Regions from separate parts of the Homo sapiens genome. Here regions 1 and 2 are each linked to region 3. The links are contacts of gene promoters, found by promoter capture Hi-C in human tissues and cell types (Jung and others, 2019). All regions are on one chromosome and are shown on one strand. Each heading gives the region's core, a stretch centred on a gene start or on the middle of the fragment in contact. The rest is flanking DNA. Distances are from core to core; before and after follow the strand shown. Region 1 overlaps CDC25A (cell division cycle 25A). Region 2 overlaps ZNF589 (zinc finger protein 589). Region 3 holds the start of SCAP (SREBF chaperone).

Evidence for each region. The method cuts DNA at HindIII sites, captures the fragments that hold promoters and counts their contacts. A contact is called where the count stands out against the background at its distance.
Region 1: a fragment that was not itself captured here is called in contact with the fragment with the promoter of SCAP in region 3 in 1 of the 25 tissues and cell types used here (dorsolateral prefrontal cortex).
Region 2: a contact is called between a fragment that was not itself captured here and the fragment with the promoter of SCAP in region 3, in 1 of the 25 tissues and cell types used here (dorsolateral prefrontal cortex).

The regions. Positions count from the first base shown.
Region 1 is chr3:48,157,891-48,161,504 of GRCh38, forward strand. CDC25A (cell division cycle 25A) reads right to left here. Exons shown (of 15, transcript NM_001789.3): 14 at 1,454-1,565; 15 at 1-1,195. The coding sequence ends at 1,055. It also overlaps the pseudogene SNRPFP4. Among named protein-coding and RNA genes, the nearest start is that of CDC25A, 29 kb to the right of the region's middle. The HindIII fragment of the contact is 7,323 bases long and covers 1-3,614 here.
Region 2 is chr3:48,270,234-48,273,576 of GRCh38, forward strand. It overlaps ZNF589 (zinc finger protein 589), which reads left to right. Exons shown (of 4, transcript NM_016089.3): 4 at 1-757. Among named protein-coding and RNA genes, the nearest start is that of NME6, 29 kb to the right of the region's middle. The HindIII fragment of the contact is 5,059 bases long and covers 1-3,343 here.
Region 3 is chr3:47,473,651-47,477,232 of GRCh38, forward strand. It overlaps SCAP (SREBF chaperone), which reads right to left and starts at 2,291. Exons shown (of 23, transcript NM_012235.4): 1 at 2,149-2,291. It overlaps LOC105377073 (a long non-coding RNA gene), which reads left to right and starts at 2,295. Exons shown (of 3, transcript XR_940821.3): 1 at 2,295-2,714; 2 at 2,992-3,052. RefSeq lists a silencer at 1,839-2,378. The HindIII fragment of the contact is 11,347 bases long and covers 1-3,582 here.

The DNA of each region.
Region 1 (3,614 bases), core at 371-2,870, 680 kb after region 3:
TAATATGACCATTTTTTAAAAATTAGAAAATAAAAGCTATCAATATCACAGCAACATAAGGAAGATACTCAGTGGACATGCTCCTCCCCCATCCTGTGGAGCCCACCTACCCCCACCCCCCTTCCCTGGGAAACCTACACTGCAACATTCCAGCACTGAGCCGGGGGTGGCCCAACAGATGCTGCCTCAAGTGCTTTCCTGACTGTGGCTCCTATACCAGCCAATGTCATGGAACTGGGGTGAGGAAGAACAGGGCCACACCTCCCACCAAATAGATATCGGTAGCCAGTGGTGGGTCTGGGAGATTTAGCTTATGTCAGGCAGCCAAGCCTGGGTCCAACGCTCTCACCAGGACCTCAGTTCTTGGCTTAAATAGCAGCAGCCCCAGTACCACAGCGCCTCCTGGGGGTGACAGAGCACCTAGCTTTCTGTCCGATAACTTATAACAGGTTTGCATTTTCTTACCCACTTCTTTTTTTTTTTTAAATTAAAAGCCGAGGTAGTCCCTGGGATAATAAAACCCTACCTAGAATGGCAGTATTTCAACCTAATGAAGCAGTAAAATAAGTCTCCAGGAGTTAGAAAAAAAAATAAAATAAAGTGATTGATGAAGTTGAATAAATTAAACATATGGATTATCCCACAAAGACCTTTCCTTCCCAGGTTGTCTTTGCTATTTGGCCAGCAGCATTTCTGTGTAACTTCTCTACTCCCCTCCGTCTCCTCTCCCCTCATGAGATGGCTGGAGCCCGATAAGGCCCCGGCTGGTTCATCCCACTGTGGCTCAGAGCAGCTTGACACGGTGCTCAGAACTGCATTGTGGCACAGTTCTGATATGGACGGAGGACGTCTAACAGGGACAGAAGAGGCGTAGCCAGCAAGATGCCCTGGGCTCCAACCTTGGGAGTGTGGGAGGTAGGTTTAAGGCATGGAAGTCCCAGGCCCCCTCTCCAAATGTCACACAGCTGTCCCCTTTGCTTAAGTTTCTCTGCAGCAAAGAGGGTAAAGGGGGATGGAGGGAAGCTTGGGCTGCTGCTGGCTGGTCCTGCCGCCCTCAGAGCTTCTTCAGACGACTGTACATCTCCCTCTTGCTCTTCTCCCCTGCCCAGGTCCGGCTCTTGGTGCGGAACTTCTTCAGGTCTTCTTTAAAGTCCTCGTGGTGCATGGGCCGGTAGCTAGGGGGCTCACAGTAAGACTGAGGGGACAGGAGAGAATAAGGTTAGGGTACACCTGCCTCACACCCACAACCTGGTTTCCTCTCTGCCTAGGGCTACAAGGCTGAAAGCGGCCAGGCAGACCTAGGGAGCCAGTTCTACAGGGGCTTTCTTTGGGTTCAGCAGATACCCACCTTGTCCCCCGACCCCTGGAAAGAAAGTCATGACCACCAGACAGATCCATTAGTCTACCACTGGGGGCAGGGGAGGAGAGATGCTCTCCACAACCCCAGTCTTACCTGGCATTTCATAAAGAACTCCTTGTATCCCCCCTTCAGGACATACAGCTCAGGGTAGTGGAGTTTGGGGTATTCATTACCCAGGCGATCTCTCTCTCTCACATACCGGCACCTAGTCAGGGGAAGGAAGGCCAAAGCAGGGTTAGCTTTTCCAGCACAGCAACAAGGCAACGCAGTCAAAGCAGCAGTTGTGGTCTAAGTCCCCCTTATACACATCTTCCCAACTTGACATTTATTCTTAGAAACAATCAGTGCTGAGTTGCAAGTTCCTGGCCACATGAGCAGCACTCACAGCCAGTGCCAGTAGATGGTCTCTTCCCCAATTTTCCTTTCTCCAACAATCCTAGCATCTGAGTCCTGCCCAGCACCTTCACCACCACAGTTTGTGGCAAGTTTTCACTATATGAGCCAGCTTCCCCTTGCTTTCTCCACCCCAGCCTTCTCTTCAGCCAGGCTCCCTCACTCACCTCCTTCTACATAAGTGGGCTTGTTTCTTTCTGTGGCTTTTAAAGAGGCTGAACTTGCTCCTGCCTCGGGGCCCTGTTTCTATCCTCTACTTGGACTGAATGGTCTTCAATATCCAGCCAATGGCTGCTTACTGCCTCGCCCTTGGTGAAAAAGCCCGAGGCCCCAAGTCCTTCAGAGGCCTACAGCTCTACAGGCCCCTACTGCTGCTCTGCCCCTTGTTCACCCCACGCCAGCCCCTGCAGCCCCACTACTGTTCCTCCAGCCTGCCTGGGAGCTCCACCACTGGCCTTATTTTCCTCTGAAGCACCTTCTTTTTTCTGAGACAGAATCTCACTCTGTCACCAGGCTGGAGTGCAAGGGCGTGACCTCAGGCTCACTGCAATCTCCGTCTCCCGGGTTCAAGCAATTCTCCTGCCTCAGCCTCCCAAATAGCTGGGACTACAGGCGCGTGCCACCGCCCAGCTGATTTTTGTATGTTTAGTAGAGATGGGGCTTCACCATGTTGGCCAGGATGGTCTCGACCTCTTGACCTTGTGATCCACCTGCCTTGGCCTCCCAAAGTGTTGGGATTACAGGAGTTAGCCACCGCACCCAGTCACCTTTTTTTTTTTTTTTTTGAGATGGAGTCTCACTCTGTCGCCCAGGCTGGAGTGCACTGGCGCGATCTCGGCTCACTGCAACCTCTGCCTCCTGGGTTCAAGGGATGCTCCTGCCTCAGCCTCCAAAGTAGCTGGGATTACAGGTGTCCGCCACCACGCCTGGCTAATTTTTGTATTTTTAGTAGAGACGGGATTTCACCATGTTGGCCAGGCTGGTCTCGATCTCCTGTCCACTCCGAAATGTAAGTTCCATGAAGGCAGAGATTTTTTGGTCTGTTTTGTTCACTGCTCTTCTCCCTCAGTATCTAGAAAGGTATCTGGTACACAAGAGCCAAGAGTATCTGCTGATTTTCTCTTGAAGCTCAGTGGTTTGGGGCCTTTGTTAGCTGCTCATGAGGGATGGGCAGCAGCTTCCTCTGCAGCACGTAGCTTAAACCATTTGCCTGTGGTTAAAAGGAGTTTGGCTGGGCGCGGTGGCTCACACCTGTAATTCCAGCACTTTGGGAGGCTGAGGCGGTGGATCACGAGGTCAGGAGTTCGAGACCAGCCTGGCCAAGATAGTGAAACCCTGTGTCTACTAAAACTACAAAAAATTAGCTGGGCGTGGTGGCAGGTGCCTGTAATCCCAGCTACTTGGGAGGCTGAGGCAGAGAAATGCTTGAACCCGGGAGGAGGAGGCTGCAGTGAGCCGAGATTGTGCCACTGCATTCCAGCCTGGGCGAAAGGGCGAGATTCCAACTCAAAAAAAAAAAAAAAAAAAAAAAAGAGTTCACCTGTGAATCCCAAATCTTTCCCCAGTGGAACAACAGAAAGCCAGTGATGGCGAAACTCAAGTGGGGAACGAAGTGTAAGGGGTATCTGTAGATGGTGATATAAACATGCAGCTTGCAAATACAGAATACAGAGATGGGGCGTTTTCTGTATATCTAGGTGAAGTTTCAATATGGTATAATAATGTCCTTTATATTAGAGGTGTTAAAGAGGAAGATGGGGAAATGAGAGATTAAGAGAATAGCATCTTTTGGGCTGGGCATGGCGGCTCACACCTGTAATCCAAGCACTTTGGGAGGCCAGGATTGCCTGAGCCCAGGAGT
Region 2 (3,343 bases), core at 708-3,207, 800 kb after region 3:
CCAGGTCCCCTTCCTAACCCTCCAGTCCCAAATCCAAGATTCTTTAACCACACTCTAAAAGTTCTTCAGACTCAGGACTTAAACATAGCCACGCCACCTTGGCCTTCAATGACAGGGATCTAGCAATGCTGCATCATCAGCCTTCCAATACCAGGTTTAAGGGTATTTTAAACACAGCTCCTCTTAAATCCTCCAATCTCAGTACCCAGTGTTTTAGCCATGCTCGGGTGGCTAAATTACATCCAGGAATGGTGCCAGGGCCTTTAGCCATTTGTCTCTCCTCACACTCCAGGGCCCATATGGCCCAGGTTCTGACAGTTTGCCTTACTCCCTTGGGCTGGGGCTAGCCCTACCTGATACCCTGTGTCAATGAGTGTACCTTGGAGAGCTATCCACTCAGGCCCCAGTGCCTCTATTTGCTAAGGGACTCTGCCACAGAAAAGAAGGGGAGAGATGTTCATGTAACCTCAAAATACTTAGGCTTGGTTTTGATGCTAGAGAGGAAAAAGGACTTGGAGAGAGAGAAGGAATGGCTGGTCCAGAGGCTTTTGTCCACTCCCTCTCACTGGAAGTGGTTGATCTCCAGGGAATCCCCAAGGTTAGCCTGCTTAGGGGAAGGGCTAGGGGTACCTGGAATGTAGGATCTCCCCCATGCCTGGCCTACCACCCTAATGTGTCTGGAATTGGTGGGTTCTTGGTCTTGCTGACTTCAAGAATGAAGCCGTGGACCCTCACGGTGAGTGTTACAATTCTTAAACATGGTGTGTCTGGAGTTTGTTCCTTCTGATGTTCGGACGTGTCCAGAGTTTCTAACTTCTGGTGGGTTTGTGGTCTCGCTTAGGAGTGAAGCTGCAGACCTTAGCAGTGTTACGGCTCTTAAAGGCAGCGCATCTGGAGTTGTTAGTTCCTTCCGGTGGGTTCGTGGTCTTGCTGGTTTCAGGAGTGAAGCTGCGGACCTTTGCGGTTAGTGTTACAGCTCTTAAAGGCGGCGCGGACCCAAAGAGTGACCAGCAGGAAGATTTATTGTGAAGAGTGAAAAAACAAAGCTTCCACAGCATGGAAGGGGACCTGAGTGGCTTGCCGCTGCTGGCTCGGGTAGCCTGCTTTTATCCCCTTATCCGGCCCCACCCACATCCTGCTGATTGGTCCATTTTACAGAGAGCATATTGGTCCGTTTTGACAGGGTGCTGATTGGTGCATTTACAATCCCTGAGCTAGACACAGAGTGCTGATTGGTGCATTTACAAGCCTCTAGCTAGACAAAAATTTTCCAAGTCCCCACTAGATTAGCTAGACACGCGTTTACAAACCTTTAGCTAGACACAGTGCTGATTGGTGCGTTTACAATCCTTTAGCTAGACACAAGTTCTCCAAGTCCCCGCTAGATTAGCTAGACACAGAGCACTGATTGGTGCGTTTACAAACCTTGAGCTAGACACAGAGTGCTGATTGGTGCATTTACAATCCTCTAGCTAGACATAAAAGTTTTCCAAGTCCCCACCAGGTTAGTTAGATACAGAGTGCTGATTGGTGCATCCACAAACCCCGAGCTAGACAGAGAGTGCTGCTTGGTGCATATACAATCCTCCAGCTAGACAAAAGTTCTCCAAGACCCCACCCAACTCAGGAGCCCAGCTGACTTCCCCTAGTGGATCCCGCACTGGGGCTGTGGGTGGAGCTGCCTGCTAGTCCTGTGCCTCACACCTGCACACCTCAGCCCTTGGGCGGTCGATGGGACGGGCAGCGCCTGTCGGGGAGTCTCGGGCTGCATGCGAGCCCATGGCGGTCGGGGGTGGCTTGGGCATGGCAGGCCGCAGGTCCCAAGCCCTGCCTCATGGGGAGGCGGCTGAGGCCCGGTGAGAATTCAAGTGCGGCGTGGGCAGGCTGTCAGTGCTGGGGGACCCGGTGCACCCTCTGCAGCTGCTGGCCCGGGTGCTAAGCCCCTTAATGCCTGGGGCCTGTGGTGCCGGCCGGCCGCTCCGAGTGTGGGGGCCCCCGAGCCTGCGCCCACCCGGAACTCATGCTGGCCTGCGAGCCCCATGCGCAGCCCTGGTTCCCACCTGCGCCTCTCCCTCCACACCTCTCTGCCAGCCAAGGGAGCTGGCTCCGGCCTCGACCAACCCAGAGAGGGGCTCCCACAGTGCAGCGGCTGGCTAAAGGGCTCCTCAAGCGTGGCCAGAGCGGACGCTGAGGCCGGGGAGGCGCTGAGAGTGAGCGAGGGCTGCTAACACGTTGTCACCTCTCACTATTGCTGCCCCTTTCCCATGGCCTGAGCTAAAAGCCATAGAAAGTGTGTGTATGTGTGTGTGTTTAGGGGTTGCTGGGCAGGGGAAGGGTGGGACACCATCATTCCACAAGACCTCGAAGTTACTCCTCCCATAGAAAAATGAAAGTGGAAAAATTAGTGATCATACATCTACTTTAAACATGAGAGGGAGAAAAAAGTGTTCATTTTCTATTAAAATCCATGTAGGCACTGTCGAGATACCACACAGATCTGGTCCGGCAAGAGGACTGTCAGGTCCAGGCAGTCATAGGAAGAGATTGTAAGCTGCAGTAAATCTGAGTCTCTCTTCAAAGGGTTTAGCCTGCTAACTTCCTTATCCTTGTTCTCAAATTCAACTTTCTTGTTCTTCCTTACCCCTAGTTACTGTAAACAGCCTACCCCATTCTCGTCAGCTTTAATCAATAATTCACATCTGTTCCCTTGGTTACCTGTACCCATTGTTCCCCCGAAACTGCACGCCTCACACTCCACCTCTGTAACTCATGTCCCCCTCCCCTTCTATAGTTAGGAAAATATGTACAAGTGGCCAATTGGGTCAGCTCAGATTGTGCAGTCTGACCCCAGCCCATGGGGGGAGTGACACAGAGATAGGGACTGTGTTAAGGATAAAAATCCCCTGGTCTCCTTTGTTCTCTGTGCTCTTGTGATCTTGATTGACACAAGTGGCACCGTTCCGCAGAAGTAAATTACCTTGCTGAGAGAAATTAAACTTTTGCCTGAGTGCTGGTTTTACTTCATGGCACCGAGCATTTCATCCTAGAGCATTTTATATCCAACAATTCTGGGGGCTCGTCTGGGATTCCCATTCTCCTTCGGGAAGGGGTCTTCAGTCACCCTACCCAGGGGAGACACTTCCCACTGCCCTGTTGCGGTGGCCCTCAGGGATGGGAGATCGAGACCCACCTGTTGTGACGAATAAACCTGGACTCTCAGCAACGCGGGGAAGAGAGACTTGCAATACTGCGGCGACCAGGTAAACTGCACAGACCAAGGTAGAAAACGTCGCAGGGGCAACAAATTACTTCTTTAGTGGTTTTGCGGGGGTCGGGGCATTCT
Region 3 (3,582 bases), core at 1,041-3,540:
CCTGTCATTCCAGGATCCCTGAGGCACATTCACATGCATGGCTAGATTCTGAGAGAGAAAACATCCCTAAAGTCTACCACCAAATGTTAATATACATACCTGCAGTGAAGCCCACAGGCACACTTTTTCTTTCCTTTTTTAGTTTATTTAATTCCTGAATCGCATATGCCTCCATTTTTCTAGTAATAAACTTGTAGTAAACTTTTTACCCACCTAATGACAGTGACTGAGGGAACGGGGGAAGGGCCCCAAACCAGTGATTATAAAGTCCACGGAGATCTCTAGAGAGGGGGCGTTTTTGCCGCAACAGCAAAAGAAAAGAGAGAGCATTCAAGCCAGGCGCGGTGGCTCACGCCTGTAATCCCAGCACTTTGGGAGGCCGAAGCGGACGGATCATGAGGTCAGGAGATAGAGACGATCCTGGCTAACACGGTGAAACCCCGTCTCTACTAAAAATACAAAAAAGTAGCCGGGCATGGTGGCGGGCGCCTGTAGTCCCAGCTACTTGGGAGGCTGAGGCAGGAGAATCGCTTGAACCCGGCAGGCGGAGGGTGCAGTGAGCCGAGATGGCGCCACTGCACTCCAGCCTGGGCGACAGAGCGAGACTCCATCTCAAAAAAAAAAAGAAAGAAAGAAAAGAGAGAGCATTCAAACATCAGATCAGTTCATAATAAATTTAAAAAGCCTAATTCTTTCCATTTCAATTTATGACCAAAAGAATAAATATGGAAATATATTTATACAGTGTTAAATATATTTATATAGTGTTTTTTACATCATGTGCTCAGTGGGAATACTGCAAATGTGTAAAACACCTAAAATGTAAACTATATTAACACACATTTTAAAAGATACAGGTCTTGGCCGGGCACGGTGGTTCACGCCTGTAATACCAACACTTTGGGAGGCCAAGGCTTGTATAATGCTTGAGCCCAGGAGTTAAAGACCAGCCTGGGCAACACAGCAAGACCCCCATCTCTACAAAAAAATACAAAAATTAGCCGGGCGTGGTGGCACACACCTGCTGTCCCAGCTACTGGGGAGGCTGAGGTGGGAGGATCACCTGAGCCCAGGAAATCAAGGCTGCAGTGAGCCGAGATCGCGCCACTGCACTCCAGCCTGGGAGACAGAGTGAGACCCTGTCTCCAAACAAACAAACAAAAAACAAGTCTTTAGGCATCACTGAGGAACACCTAAAATGGATACAGCACTAACTAGACACCCTCGACCCTGACTCCCTAATAAAAGCGTCAGTCTTTTGCTCAATATCCTGACCTGACAGCAAACCAATAAAGACACGGCATAACCAAACTCCACAAATTTTTGGCCAAATAAAAGAAACACACGCAACGCTAACATTAAACCTTTTCTATGGCCGCTTCACGATAAGTATTACAAAATCCCCAGAAAGAGTTTATTCACCTAGCTCCGACTGTCGCCATACAAGGTGGAGCAGTGAGTGACCCGAACCAGGGGCTGACCCCTGCCAGAGCCCCCACAGCGACTCACTGCCCCCCCCTCCGCATTCCCATCTGCACAACTTTCTGTGATTCAAACAGTCCGGAGCCAGGGCTCCCTGCAACTAACGCTATCGTGACATTATAAGCCGGTTAAATACTGAGGTCATAAACCCACTCAGAAGTAAACAGAAGCAACATTAGTGAGCAAAGTTGAGGTTTAAGCAATACGGAAAACTAGAAACCAAGCAAAACCAGCAAAGCAACTAGCGTTGTCTCTCAATAAGATCTTCCAAAAGAGGCAAAGTGGAGAACCTGCTCTCCCCCGCACTCCGGAAAACCCAAACAGCACCAAAGCAGGTTCTACAACAGCTTCCCGGAGCAACTAGGCCAGGGGATGCGACGCCGCGCATCTCCCCCCGTCACACCAGGGGCCCGCGGAGGTCTGGTGGGGACGCGGAGCTCCAGGGGCCGGCCGGTGCAGGGACACGGCCGGGTTGGGGGTGGGGACGCGCGGCCCTGCCTCCTTGCCGGCCTGCGGTCTCCAGGGCCGGCCCGCACGGCTGCTGGACAGCGCCATGCCCACGCACCCCCGAACCTAGCGGCCCCCATTCCGGAACTCCCAGCTCCACGCGGCTGGGGTCGAGCTGGGGCCCGCGGGCAGGCGCCCTGAGCACCCGCGTGACGGTACCTGTGGTGGCAGCACCTCCCAAGCTGCGGCGGCGGCGGCGGCGGCGACGGGGGCGGCAGCAGGGGCGGAGCGCGGCGTGCGCGCTCTCGGCCCGCAGTCCGGTGCGTGGCGCCCTCCCTCTCTCTCCTGGCCGCCGGGTGCCCGCCCCTTCACCTCTCACCTCCTACCTTTACCCTCCCGCCCCGCCGCCCTCCGCACGTGCGCCCAGCGGCGTGCGCATGCGTAGTCGAACCACATTCGCGTCTCCCGTTCGCCCTCTGGTGGACACCGGAGGGAAGTATGGACGGCCGGGCCGGGCCGGGCCGGGCGGAGCGTGAAGCCGGGTTAGGGCCCGCCGGGTTTGGGCCCACCGGCTCTCATCGGTCATCAAGAACTTGCAGAAAGCCGGGCACGGTGGCTCGCGGTTGTAATCCCAACACTGTGGGAGTCCAAGGCGCGAAGATCGCTTGAGCCGAGGAGTTAGAGACCAACTTGGGCAACGTAGGAGACCTCCGTCTCCACAAGTAAAATTAATTAGCCGGCTGTGGTGGCGCGCACCTGTGGTCCCAGCTACTCAGGAGGCTGAGGTAGGAGGATCACCTGAGCCCGGGAGGTCGAGGCCACAGTGAGACAAAAAACAAAAAACCCACCCTGCACAAGATGCTCATGTTCCCTGTTTTATAATGGCAAAAAATTAGAAGCAGCTGGGCCGAGATACACTGCAAATGCAGATGAGAAGAATAAATAATGTCCATAAAACTAGTTTCCCTATAGACATTTAAAAGCATAAGTTGACATTTAACCATTTTCCACAGGGAACAGGTATTTGTTATAATAGCAACAGCTACGTTCACTGTTTACTAGGTGTCAGTTGCGGAGCTGGTATTGTACATGTCCTCGCATTTGGCCCTCCTGAAAATCCGAGGTAGGTCTTGTTACAGGGCCTCACAGAAGGGGAAGGGGAGGCTGCCTCCCCTCGAGGGAAACACAGGTCCCCACCTGCCCAGCTCTGGCCCAACTAGAGACGCTGCCCGGACCACTCTGGGGGGACTTTGATCATGCTACTGCATGCCCTTGCTGTACCCAGGTCTTGTGTCAGAGGTAAGCCTCCCCTCAGCCCCTGCCTACTGCCCGAGACACCCGCACCCACCCCAGGGCTACCTGGATAAGGCAGGCCCTGTACCTGCCCTCAAAGGCACCAGCAAACTTCTCTGGGAGTTCCAGAAAGTGCAGATCTAGTCACCAATGCAAGGCAGAAATTAGAGGTGGCCCTTCTGACCGCACCAGCCCCCGACCCACTACACATTCTTCAGATACCTCCTCCTAAAACCCAGTTCCCACCGGACTCTGGCCTCCCTCCTTGCCCACCACACTATTGTCACAATGAAAGTAACAATGGGGACAGTGGGCCTTGGCCCAAAGTGACTTTCAGGGTTATGACATTTTCAGCATTGT